Regions from separate parts of the Homo sapiens genome. Here region 2 is linked to region 1. Evidence: promoter capture Hi-C in human tissues and cell types (Jung and others, 2019). All regions are on one chromosome and are shown on one strand. The core of a region is centred on a gene start or on the middle of the fragment in contact, and the rest is flanking DNA. Distances in the headings are between cores, read along the strand shown.

Region 1 (7,117 bases), core at 2,031-4,530:
TGAAATAACAGTGAAAGGAGTTTGTCAGCCACTCCTTGGCTGGTAACATCTACCATAGCCTATCACTACAAAAACTTGCAAATCTATGTAGAGTAGCTGCAGCTACCTGAAGGCACTGTTCATTGTAAACACCATTAACAATTTGATGTCCCAATTTGCATGTTTTGGGGGTGGGGGGAGACAAGGTCTCACTGTTGTCCAGGATGGAGTGCAGTGGCAGGATCATGGCTCACTGCAGCCTCAACCTCCCAAGCTCAAGCGATCTTCCCACTTCAGCTTCTCCAACAGCTGGACTACAGGTGTGAGCCACCATGCCTGGCTAATTTTTTGATTTTTTGGTAGAGATGAGGTCTCTCTATGTTGCCCAGGCTGGTGAACTCCTGGGCTCCTAAACTCACCTAGGCCTCCCAAAGTGCTGGGATTACAGGAATGAGCCACCTCACCCAGCCTGCACGTATTTTAGAACTACATTTTAAGATAATGTGAAGACTGCTTCATAAAAACACCTTAAATATATACTTGTCAAAACTTGTGCTTACTTATGGAAATTGCATTAAATTCAATAAATTCTTTAAATCTCACTTTTAAAAATGGCAATCTTCCCGAACATTAAACCAAATTACATTTCTCCCTGAATTTGCTGCCACTTAATTTCAGCTACTCTTCTACAGAATAGTACCCATGTTATCTTTTTTTCTGTCTGGTTCCTACTCAAAAAGAGTGGAACTGCTTTCTCCAAATATGCATTCTGTGCTCAGAAGCTGTTTTCTCTGCCCAGATACATGTGTAAACAAGCCAAAAAAAACAAAACAAAAAAACAAAAACAAAAACAAAACTTTCTGCTAATAGATTGACAGCTACAAGGTAGAATATTTTAAAAATTCAGTAAGCTGGGCGCAGTGGCTCACTCCTGTAATCCCAACACTTTGAGAGGCCAAGGCAGGTGGATCACTTGAGGCCAGGAGTTCGAGACCAGCCTGGGCAACATGCTGAAACCCCGTCTCTACTAAAAATACAAAAATTAGCCAGGTGTGGTGGCATGTGCCTGTAAATCCCAGCTACTCGGGGGGCTGAGGCAGGAGAATAACTTGAAGACCTAGGAGGTGGAGGTTGTAGTGAGTTGAGATCGTGTCACTGCACTCCATCCTGGGTGACAGAACAAGACTCCAACTCGGGGGGGGAAGAAAAAAATCAGTAATAGTGAAAATAGCAAAACCAGACAACATTTCCATGTTTGTGTTACAACAGTCCTAAGAAAATGAGATTATCATCATCCCCCTGTTACAATTGAGAAAATGTAGGCAACACGAGGGTAACTTCTAATGAATAAGCCATGCCTTTGTTTCATATAAATAAGTCAACTCAACTCACATTAACTTTTCAAAATACCGGATAAAATTTATTTCTAACCAATGCAAGTTTCAAAGATAAGTACACAAATTAAATTTATGATTAAATAATAAGCTTGTTAATCTGATGCCTTTCGGAACGCATTTCACTTAGCAAACCTCAATTAAGCTATTTCTTATATGGTTTGATTACAAAACTGCCTTTCAGCATATTAAATACAAGGAGAAAAAACTGAAAAGCCACAACGATTTCAACTTCTGTAAATTACCCTGACTGTAATGAGGGGCGCCAGGCAGGTTGGGGAAGTATGGAAATTGCACACTGCACACACCACCTGACCACCAAGAAAAAAGAGGACACCACTCTTCCCCACTGTGGTCTTCACAAACTACAACTCAGCACCTATTTCAAGTGCATTTAAATATTCAAACAACTGAAACTAAGAGAAAAAAACTTTCGAAAGGGAAAATAACTTGTCTGTCCCCTTCAATGTTCACCTTGGAGTTGCTCTCATCTCTAGAAAAAGGCCTCACGCATACTGTTTATACTTACAAACTCCACTGCCCTGTCAAGGAAAACCTTCCTGTTTTCTCAGTTATCCAAAACTTCAAACTTCCAATTTACTATTAAGACAAGTTATTGGGCATCCACTTAGAGAATCTCAAACGAAAGCCAGATAGGAGGTAGTTTTCTACAGCTAGGTTTCTCAAGTTTCATCTCAGCCAAGTTTTAAGAACGTTTTACGTAAAAATAAGGGGAAAAGCAAAATTACATTCGCATGAAGTTTCGACGCACAACGGCACTGAAACGGAAAGACTCTTCACGTTCCCAAGCGCACCCTGAGAGGCAGGTGCAGCAGCTTTCCGATGGCTTCTCTGCCGCCCATGTATCCCAGCCCCAAGACCAACACAGGCAATCTTCACATCTGACTTTATTTTTTTAACTCCTTCAGATCCACCTCTGCTCAAGTCTATCAACAGGAAAACAGGAGCGTTCCAAACACACACCGAGCAACAGGATCCCAACTTCCTGGTTCTAAAGGAATGCGATGCCCTGATGACCCGTCCCGCCCCGCACCCGCACGGCCGCCTATCCGGGCTCCGGCGGGACCGAGGAGCGAGTGGCAAGGCTGGCGCCGCACTGCGGGTGCCGGCGCCCGCCCGGCCTGGGGGCGCTCGCGGCCCGCGACCCCGGCCCCGCCCAGGCCCTGCCCGACCCCCGTCCTCGCCGGCCTTCGCCCAACCCCGGCCTCCCGACCCTGACCCCGGCCCGGTCTTCCGGGCACCCAGCTCCGTCGACTCCCGCCTCGCCTCAACGGGTCCTCCTAAGCCCCGGCCCCGGCCTTCCCCTGCCCCGGCCTCGGCCATCCTCAGCCCCAGTTTTCCCCTGCCCCGGCCCCGGTCCTCCTCAGCCCCGGCTTTTTCCTGGCCCTGACCCCGGTCCTCCTCAGCCCTGGCCCTTCCCGTGCCCTAGCCCCGGTCCTCCTCAACCCGGCCCCGGCCTTCCCCTGCCCCGGCCCCGGCCCCGGCCCAGGCCCGGCCCTGCCCGCCGCGGCCGCGTCCTCCGGGAAGATGGCGGCGCAGTGACAGGCGGCGCGGCGCGGGTCCGAGCTGGGCCGGGAGGGACGGCCCGCCGCGGCCCAGGGTGCCTCACCTGTCAGCGCCGCCGCCCCGCCCGACCGGCCGCCCGCGGGCTCCTCGCCTCAACCCCGGGGCCCGGCGGCCGCGCCACACGCGGGGACGGCGAGGAGAGAGACGGCAGGGAGAGGCGGCGCGGCCGGGCCGGGCCGGGCCGGAGGTAGGGGAGAGGGCGGGCGCGAGCTGGCGGCGGCGGCGGCGGCGGATTCTTCCCCTTTCGGGCCCGAAAATGTCTCAACCCCGGGACTCCAGATCCCCAACGCTCCTTCCCGTTCGCATGAGAACACACAGCTCCCACTTCCGGGGCCCTGCGGAAGTCCCGCCCCCGCGCGGACCCGCGCCTCGCGCCCTGAACTCGCGCACTCACCCGCCGGTCCCGCGGACTGGCGCTCAGCCCCGGGAGAGCCTCACGTCATGGTGTTGCGGCGCGCTGATTGGGCGCACCCGACGCTCGGCCCGCCCCGCCGCCTTCTTGGCCTCTCCGCGCGTACACCCTGCTCGCGGCCTTGCGATTGGCGCGTGCGCGCACATCGCCCCGCCCCGCGCACGCCGCACGTCCGCCCCGCCCGCCCCGCCCGCCCCGCCCGCCGTCCCCGGCGCGACCGGAGCGCCTGACGCTGGGGGGCCGTGTGGGCCCTGACTTCCGGAGGGCTGGGCCCTGGTCCTCCGCCACCGCGTGCGCCCCTTAAAGACCCCTGCCCGCCGCCCAGGACGGATGGCGACCCCGGCCCTAGCCTGTCCCCAGACCCTGGACCAAGGCCCCGGCCCTGCCCCGAACCCCTCATCCCACCCCCAGGACCCAGGCCCCGACCCTGGCCACCCAGGACACGCCCTGGCCCTTCCCCGAACTCCCACCCCACAGCTGGGATCAAGGTCCCGGCCCTGCCCGGAACACCTCACCCCACACCCGGGACCCAGGCCCCGGCCCTGCCCCGAACTCCCACCCCACACCCGGGACCAAGGCCCCGGCCCTGCCCCGAACCCCTCACCCCACCCCCGGGACCAAGGCCCCGGCCCTGCCCAGAACTCCCACCCCACACCCGGGACCAAGGCCCCGGCCCTGCCCAGAACTCCCACCCCACACCCGGGACCAAGGCCCCGGCCCTGCCCCGAAGGCCCCACCGGGGACCCAGGCCCCGGCCCTGCCCCAAACTCCCACCCCACACCCGGGACCAAGGCCCCGGCCCTGCCCCGAACGCCCCACCCGGGACCCAGGCCCCGGCCCTGCCCCAAACTCCCACCCCACACCCGGGACCAAGGCCCCGGCACTGCCCCGAACGCCCCACCAGGGACCCAGGCCCCAGCCCTGTCCCGAACTCCCGCCCCACACCTGAGACGAAGGTCCCGGCCCCGAAGTCCCAACCCCACACCCGGGACCAAGGCCCCGGCACTGCCCCGAACCCCCGCCCCACACCCCTAACCAAGGCCTCGGCTCAGCCCCGGAATCCCCAACCCCACACCTGGGATCAAGGCCCCGGCCCTTCCCCAAACCCCCAACCCACACCCGGGACCAAAAGGCCCCGGCCCCACGTTTCCTAGAGGCGCTGGGTTCGGGCCCACGTTGCAACGAGTCAGATGCTCTTGGTAGCTCAGGGAGGTGTTCACACTCCTGCCGTTTCCGTGAGGATGGTGACGACTCCGAACTATAGCAGCATACTCTACCTACCCCTGATCAGTTTATGGAAGAAAAGGAAACCAAACAAAGTATGTTGCGTTTCCCTTAAGCTTGCTGCCTGATTTTCTGGTTTCTGCTCTGATTGGCTACATATACACATATTATCAATTATTCCAAATTTTAGGTTTGTTCCCCCATTAAAACGGCTTTTCAGGGATACCATATTCATGGTTAACCGTGTACCTGTGCTTACAACTGCTTTTTTAATTTTGTTTTTTGATACAGGGTCTTGCTCTATGCAGGTCTGCACTCTGAGCTCAGAGTGCTGTCTCGGGCCCCCAAAATCTGGGATTAGAGATGGGAGCCGGTGTACCCAGCCTGTGCTTATAATTTTTCGTACTCAGCGTTCAAATGCTGACAATTCTGCATTTTGGAAGAAAGCCTCTCCGGCTTCCCATAGTGGGTAGACTGTTGACATCAAGGTTGGGTGCCTTCTTTGTGAAACCTTGTTGCATCCTAGCTTTAAGGGAATTTGCAAGTTAAATAATTATATTCATAGTAATGTTTTTAAAGAACATTTAACGACATAAGACACATTTCCTTTAATATTAAAAGCATGTACATATTTCAGAAAACTTGCTTACCTGGACAACCTGCCCTGACCAGTAGGCCATAGTGTCCTTGCTTAGGTGCCTGGTTCCTTTACCTCCACGGATAACCTACAGGAGCTTACTCTTGGTTCATAACATTGCTAGGGCCATTGATGTGGTATAAGTCTAGGAATTCTGCCCCAAAATTGGTAGGTTAAACTTTTTTTTTTTTTTGAGACTGACTCTCCCTCTGTCACCCCGGCTGGAGTGCCGTGGCATAATCTCGGCTCACTGCAACCTCAGTCTCCCGGGTTCAAGTGATTCTCCTGCCTCAGCCTCCGGAGTAGCTGAGACTACAGCCGCATGCCACCACGCCCAGCTAATTTTTTGTATTTTTAGTAGAGATGGGGTTTCACCGTGTTAGCCAGAATGGTCTTGATCTCCTGACCTCGTGATCCGCCTGCCTCAGCCTCCCTAAGTGCTGGGATTACAGGCGTGAGCCACCGTTCCCGGCTGGTAGGTTAAACTTCAATCTTTTTTGTCTATGTCTACATTCCAGCAGACATCTATGTCTTACCTATTACAAAAGAAAGTAATGGGATGGGTTCAGTGGCTCATGCCTGTAATCCCAGCACTTTAGGAGGCCAAGGCAGGCAGATCGCCCAAGGCCAAGAGTTCAAGACCAGTCTGGGCAATATGTCAAAGCCCCATTTCTTTAAAAAATTATACAAAAGTAGCCGGGCATGTGGTGCATGGCTGTGGTTCCAGCTACTCAGGAGGCTGAGGTGGGAGGATCGCTTGAGGTTGAGGCTGCAGTGAGCTGTGATTGTGCCACCGCATTCCAGCCTGGGTGACAGAGCGAGACCCTGTCTCAAAAAAAGAAAAAGAAAAAAACTAAAACTAAAAGAATTCCATCTCTTCTTTCTCTTCGTATTGTGTAATCCTTTCCAACAATCAGAACTGGGCTTTTTGTTCCCTCATGATCTTCTTTTTTTCAAACCTGTGTCTCAGAAGAAACATCCATTTTCACCTTGAGATGTGAGGTTATAACATGAAATACATTTTCATGGCATCTCTCCTTAGACAAGATCAGTTTTTTAAAACTTTAGTATAAATTTCTCAAACCATGATCAGATACACTCCCTCATTTCCCATGTCAAGTGGTTACAAATTCTGTCAATCCTACCTAAAAACTCTTTCCTTCTCCCCGTCCCCCCAGTGGTTTTGCCGTTGTTACTGCTCACCTGGTTTGATTCAGTGGCGTCGCGGTTGGTCTCTGCTACAGTCCATTACTCACAGTGCCAGCACATGTTTCCTTAAAAAGCTTCATCACCATCCTCCTGCAATGCGACCTTCACCGGCTCCCCGTTGCCTGCCCAGGAGGATAAAGTCCAAGTTCTCCTGTGGAAAGAAGACCCTTCACACGCTAGTCCCAGCCTGTCTTCAGCCCAGCCCCCTGTGTTTCCTTTCCTGCCTTATCCTAAGACATCCTTACCTTCCAATCACACTCACTTTCCGAGCATTTTTGAAGGTATTGAGGGAGTTGATGAGTCTACACTTGAATAAAATACAGACTTTACACTCCAGACTGCACAGTTGACAGGTAAGTCCACAGTTCATAGTGTGGACAGTCCTATACAAAGAAATGGAGAGGTGCCCCAGCTCCAGACGCTGCGCTGCTCTGGAAGTCGAGGGCGGCATTCTTTTGGAGCCTGAGCACTTAGGTCCTAATGGATGTGAGTCCCCTGGCCTCAAATGTGCTTCCTGTACTTGGATGTCTCCTTCTGGCGGAATCTCGCTTATTTTTCAAGTTACAGCCCAAATGTCAACCACTGAAGTGTTTTAGACAGTTGATTTTCCTTCTGGGCCCTATTATTAGCACTTGTTTGTAGCTCTGTTGAGCTACATCACATCATACAATTTTC
Region 2 (6,774 bases), core at 1,897-4,396, 600 kb before region 1:
GCTTGGAGTGAGCCAGAGACTCCTTCCCACAGATCCCCACGTAAACATTGGAAAACTCAACACAGCTATGCATTTCCAGGGCCACCTGTGTCCACTTCTTCAATATAACAAACCAGGAGTTGGTGAAAAAACATTCACACAACTATTCAAATGATTAAGAATGGAATTACAAACACGTCTCAAACAACCACCTGGAGCCACAGCAAGAACTGTTATGAGGAAAAAGGTTGAGGAAAAGCAACTTCCTGGCTGAGACGATGAAAGGCCGTTCGGGAAAAGAGAGCCATCTGATACATTCTTCTGGGCATGGATGTACCAGAACACACACTGGAGAGGAACGGGAAAAATCTACATGTAAAAGAGATGGGATCTTGCTATGCTGCCCAGGCTGGAGTTGAACTCCTCGGCTCAAGTGACCCTCCCACCTTGTGGTCTCCCAAGTAGCTGGGACTGCAGACATGTACCACCACACCCAGCCTGAAAACCTACATTTTAATATATAGGAATATAAAACTAAAATTTTTGGATGACTTCATAGACAGTGCTCCATTTATGTCCCATTACGCCAAGAATTTCTTCTCATTCTCAAGCGTGTCTGTTTCCACAGTAAGCAAAAGATTAACAACATCTCAGTTTCCACACCAAATTCAGTCAGCCGAGCACAACAGAAAAAGTCATACAGGAATTCAAGGAGTTAAGCTCAGCTCACTCTGTGGCACTACCTGGGCCGAGCAGAGGGAAAGTAAGGGAGCGACAGGAATGGCTTGTGAATGTGAAGGCGAGCCGTGAATGTCTGCGTCTTGGAGTGGAACCCAGAGCTGCTAAGGGGGCGGCCACCAAAACCCCAACCGTCAGGCCCTGCGAACCCTTTCAAGGCAGCCTCGGCACACGGACAACCGACAAGGGTCCTGAGCAAGGAGGACGCACAGCTCGAGCTGGCTTTGACATTCGTGCTCAGTGTACAGACACGACTGTACACACAGAGTTAAACAGGAAAAACTCAAGTCTGGGTGACACAAATTACATATTCACACGCGCGCACGTCTGAGAGGTAAAGCAGCATGCAGCTGCAACAGCAGGTCTGAAGCCAAAGATTCTAAATTTGGCTCCAGGTTCGTTCAGCCTAAGAACCTGGAAAGGTTGCTTAATTTCTCTATGACATAAGTTTCCTCAGCTTTAAAATGGAGACAATAAGGGCTCCTATTTCAGAGAGCTATTGTAAGGATGAAATGAATACGTAAATTGCATACTGACCCTCAACTATGTCATGATTTTATTCTGGTTATTTATATATGTGCCAACAGGAAGGTCATGAAAATGTACTCACTTTCTAATACAATATAGATGAACATGAATAGTGCTAACTTTTTCCTATATAAAAACTTAAAATGATTGCACAATTACTTATGTTACATAAAGTTATCTTGCATTTTGCTTTCCTGTCCAAGCTTTATGCATTAGGAAAACAATGCAGGACAGATAAATGTACTGTTCCGTTATTGATCTCTGTGTAGATGACAGAAACACAAACACAATCCATGTATATACAAAGACATACACACATCCAAAGAGTACAAAGTCAGTTGAAATTTTATCAAAACTGGTCAGATGATTATTCCCTCCTAGTTACTTGGAGCTAAGGACTACTTAATTTACCATGAAGATATACGTATCAAAATGTCCTTGGTTTAAATGGAGGGAAATACTATTATTCTTACATAATAGCAATTATTAAAAAATGAAACACAACACTGTTAACTGAACTGTAAAATGAATTGAGCTTAGGGTCCAGACCCAGAAATCAGGGTCTCCAGGGAAAATAAAAGTGAGCGGCTAAATTCAAACCTACCTTCTTAAACACCAGTATCAAATAAAGTTAACATCACCTAAGATCTTCTGAACACTGAACACTTCAGAACACTGAATCCACCCAACAAAAAATCAAATTTAGGATCTTTCAAGTAGACCCAGTGGAATGACAGGCATTGAAAATATTTTACATTCTGGTTCGTTACTGTCTGTGGTCGTGGGGAAATATTCACGTTAAAAAGATTTTCATATAAAGGCAGTTTGTAAGCTTCAGGTGACGTTAGATTAAACCCAGGCTTTGTTTTGGAGGACTGTTTTAACTTCACCCCATCACAGATGTGCCTTCTTAGAAAGGAGTCCCTGTGGGCTCACAGGGCACTGAGCTGCCAAGGGAGCTGCTTACCTTGAGGGACTCTGTTTGCGAGCCCAGCCCCTTGGTGCACAGCTCCATCACGGAGTAGGAGCAAAACGTGTCTCGGACTTTGTACTGACTCACGGCAAGAAGCCACAAGGCGGGGTTGGTTTCCAGCTCAGAGGGCGGGATCAGGATGGACTGGTGCCCAGAATACACACTGCAGAGAAAGAAGAGGCTGTCAGGGCGGGAGCTCAGCAAGGCTGGAGCTCAGCAAGGCTGGAGGGCTCAGGGCAGCACTGACTCCAAGGAAAAGGAGGACTTGGAACAGCCCGTGCTGCCATCTGTAGAAGGGCACAGTAAAGCCAACGCTGCAAACTGCAACCATGTTCACGAAAGCCTTCTGAAAAGCAAATACGTACTACAGAATCATGGGGCAGTTCCTACCACTTTGAACACACATTTAAGACTACTAAACGCTGTGATGCTGTGATGTCTCTCAGACCTGCGACATCAGCAAACTGGATCCTCTTTCTTAGTAGAAAACACAGGGATCAAATTTCGGTTTAAAAAAAAAAAGTCCAGCTTCAGAACAGGAGCTGGCAAACCACAGACACTTCCTGTTTTTGTAAATAAAGTTTTATTGGAACAGGGCCACCACCACTCATTTGTTTAAATATTGTCTCCAGTGGCTTTGAGCTGAGTGGTCAGAGACCACAGAACCTAAAATATTTACCAAACAGCAATTTAATAAAGAGCAGGCCTATACCTGGTTTAGAAAACTGACAGCCAGGGTGAAAAAAAGACAATTATGGTAATTAAAGTTAGTCACTCAATCTTTTTAAGATCAGATTTTTACTAAAAAGGATCCCAACGAATTACCAAACAGAAGAAATAGAGAAAAATAACGATTCTTTAATTTTACCTTCATACTAGAGAACAGATTTAGAGAAATGAAAAAGTGATAGATTACATATTTTATCAATTGATGGGGTAAGTGTGGATTTAACAACTTGTCAAAACTACATTTTTAATGGTTTTAATTTTGTTTACTACTATGAATTCACAATAGATACCATACATTAAAATAAAATATCCTAGATAAATCACGTTCTAAGATTTACAATTTAATTAACGGGAACGTTCTGTTGCCCAGGCTAGAGTAGGGTGGTGTAATCATAGCTACCTGTCACCTCAAACTCCTGGGCTCCAGCAATTCTCCTGCCTCTCCTGAGTCAGTAGGACCACAGGTGTGCACCACCATGCTTGTTTTTTTTTTTTTTCAGTGGTAGGGTCTATGTTGCCTAGGCTCATCTTGAACTTCGGGGCTCAAGCAATCCTCTCTTGTTCCTGCTGTGGCCATGTAAGATGTGCCTGGCCTCCCAAAGTGTTGGGATTACAGGCATGAGCCACCATGCCCAACCTACACAATTTTTTTTTTTTTTTTTTGAGACAGGGTCTCACTCTGTCACCCAGACTGGAGTGCAGTGGTGTGATCTGGGTTCATTATAACCTCTGCCTTTCAAGCTGAGGCCATCCTCCCACCTCAGTCCCTGAGTAGCTGGGACTACAGATGCACAACACTATGCCTGGCTAATTTTTTTTTTTTTTTTTTTTGTAGATACGGTTTCGTATTGTTGCCCAGGCTGGTCTCAAACTCCTGGCTTCAAGTACTCCTCCTATCTTAGCCTCCCAAAGTGCTAGGATTATAGGCATGAGCTGCCATAAGAGGCCTACGCAAAATTTTATCAGTGAAACAGCACTATGATTAACGAGTTAGGCCTTGTTAACTACTATGCTATAATACTAAAGCCAGTTCTTTAATGTAGCCAATCTCATCTAAAAATTTTCATAATTGTTTATAAGAGAATCCAACTAAAGAAATGTAAGGAAGTTAGGTTGGCTAACAAAATTTATTTCAAACGGGACCCTTAGTATGAAAAACTACTCTTCGGCAAATGTGACAAAGGCGTTTTTGGGCAATTTTCCATTTCTTTCCTCATTCTTATTCCAAAGCTTGATTTATTCTTTTCAAAAGGACACATAGCCCTCTGTGTCTGTGGGTTCCTCACCCCTGGCTTCAACCATGAATCAAAGATATTCATGAAAAAATCTGCATCTATACCTAACTTGTAGATTTTCTTATCATTAGTGACTAAACAACATAGTACAACTATTCACACAGCATTTACATTGTGTTAGGTATTACAAGTAATCCAGAAATTATTTAAAACATGAGAGAGGAAGTGCATAGGTGATGTGCTCGTATGATGCCATTTTATATCAGGGACTTGAGCATCCTCGCTCTTTGCTTTCTGCAGTGGTCCCGGAACCTATCTCCTCCGTGGACACCGAGGGACGACTTTCTAGCAAATAGTGACCTTTCCAAGGGTTTAATACTTTGAGAACAGGGTTAGGCACATAAGGGGTGAATATCAGGCCTCGAATTTTTACTCTGCTGTAAACTGGCCATTTCATCTTAGTTTTAAAAATTTTACTGTGGTAAAACATATGTAACATAACATTTACCATATTAACCACTTCTTTTCTTTTTTTCTGAGACAGAGTCTTACTTTGTCACCCAGGCTAGAGTGCAGTGGTGTGATCACAGCTCACTGTAGCCCTGACCTCATGGGCTCAAGTGATCCTCCCACTTCCCAAGTATCTGGGACTAGAGGCACGTACCACCATGACTGGGACTAGAGACTAGAGGCACATACCACCATGACTGGCTAACTTAAAACTTTTTTTGTGGAGATGGGGTCTCACTATGTTGCCCAAGCTGGTCTTGAACGCCTAGGTTCAAGCAATCCTCCTGCCTCGGACACCCAAAGTCATTTTAACCATTTCTAAGTGTCCCTGGAAGTGGCTTCCTCAAAAATACACATCAGCATTAATGATTTGCTCTGTCAGAATTGTCAGCACACAACGGGCTTGGGAACCCAGTGTGAATTCCTGGCCAGAGAATTTCAAATATACTTGTGAAAACTAAATATAGTTTCACCTCCCTCCTCATCACCATAAATAAGAAATCAACATTAAGAAAACACAAATCTTGACAGCAGAAACAAATAGAAAACCCAACTCATGATTTCCTAATTGCCCTTACCTCACTCAATACAGCAAATTTTGATTAATTGCTGTATTAGCCAAAATTGATTTTTGGCACTGGCAATAAATTCTGCTATGGACAAGACAAACCTACTTAAGAGCAGGTTGCTTATTCTCAAGACATTATTCTCTGAGAATGTTGGGAACCTGAGCTGTTCTTCAGATCTTAACTTCAAAAAGAATAAAAATAGACATTTTGGTAAGTAATACACATTCGCACATTAGCAATTTGATGATTTCAGATTACTAACCTGACAAAATATACCAACAACTGAAAACTCTCCTAACTTGGGAATTCAACAAGACAGGTTCATCTCACCTGGGGGTCCTGGGTCATACCCTGTCTGCCAGCAGGCATGCCATCCAGCCCAGGGTCTCCCTACACACTTGAGTTACTGCAATGAAGCACTTTATTATTTTTTATTGTTGAGACAGAGTCTCACTCCGTCGCCCAGGTTGGAGTGCAGTGGTGCATTCTTGGCTCAATGCAACCTCTGCCTCCTGGGTTCAAGTGATTCTCCTGCCTCATGCTCCTGAGTAGCTGGGATGACAGGCGTGTGCCACCACGCCAGGCTAATTTTTGTATTTTTAGCAGAGACGAGGTTTCATCATGTTGGCCAGGCTGGTCTCAAACTCCTGACCTCAAGTGATCCACCCACCTCAGCCTCCCAAAGTGCTGGGATTACCTGCATGAGCCACCGCACCCGGCCTATTCTTTTTAAAACACCCGTCGGCTTTATTTAGGTATACTTTGCATACCCTAAGTTTCACTCATTTTAAGCACAGAATGGCTTTTAATAAAATTGAAGAGTTGTAAAATGGTCACTACTCTAGAACATTCCCATCACCTGAAAGGGATCCCGTGTCCATCTGCAGTCAGTCCCATTTCCAGCCCTAGCCCCAGTCATCATTCTACTTTGTTTACAAATTTGCCTTTTCTGGACACTGCCTACCACACAGCCACACTTCCCTCCCTCAGCAGGTGCTTCTGAGCTCATCCTGTGCAGAAGCACCCACCATGTGGACGTGGCAGGCGTCACCTGTTCAGTCACCTGCTAGCGGATACCTGGATTGTTTCCTTGTGTTGACCGAGGTTCCAGGGAACTTACACCAAGTCTCTGAGTGGATGTTCGCTTTCCTTTCTCCTAGGAGTGCAGCTGCTGAGTCAATGCAGCAAGTCTGCTTAATTAAGATCATGCCAAACAGTGGCTTCCCCATTTTACATTCCCACTATCAATGTATGAGAATTCGTTTTTCCACCTTCTTGGTTACTGTTGCTTTGCAGTGTAAGTTTTGAAGTCAGAAAACACGAGCTCTCCAACTTTATTTCCTGTGTTTTCGGTGACAGCATTCTAGTGGGTGTGAAGTGGTATCTCACTGTGGTTTTAATTTGCATTTCCCTAATTAACGCTAGGTATCTTTTCACGTCCTTATTGGCCATTTGTATGTCTTCTTCTGGTGAGATATCTATTCAGATCTCTTGCCCGTGTTTATGTTGCTTG

What was found. Contacts are between HindIII fragments. The study calls those that stand out against the background at their distance.
Region 2: a fragment that was not itself captured here is called in contact with the fragment with the promoter of LARP4B in region 1 in 2 of the 25 tissues and cell types used here (dorsolateral prefrontal cortex and hippocampus).

What each region holds. Positions count from the first base shown.
Region 1 is chr10:928,425-935,541 of GRCh38, forward strand. LARP4B (La ribonucleoprotein 4B) reads right to left here and starts at 3,281. Exons shown (of 18, transcript NM_015155.3): 1 at 3,004-3,281. LOC124902363 (keratinocyte proline-rich protein-like) reads left to right here and starts at 3,567. Exons shown (of 2, transcript XM_047426111.1): 1 at 3,567-4,691; 2 at 6,412-7,117. The coding sequence starts at 3,703. The coding sequence ends at 4,407. It overlaps LARP4B-DT (LARP4B divergent transcript), which reads left to right and starts at 4,602. Exons shown (of 3, transcript NR_120629.1): 1 at 4,602-4,691. RefSeq lists silencers at 2,472-2,601, 2,692-2,771, 2,802-2,911, 2,982-3,691, 3,772-3,861. The HindIII fragment of the contact is 5,279 bases long and covers 336-5,614 here.
Region 2 is chr10:327,221-333,994 of GRCh38, forward strand. It overlaps DIP2C (disco interacting protein 2 homolog C), which reads right to left. Exons shown (of 37, transcript NM_014974.3): 30 at 2,213-2,381. Among named protein-coding and RNA genes, the nearest start is that of ZMYND11, 200 kb to the left of the region's middle. The HindIII fragment of the contact is 5,847 bases long and covers 224-6,070 here.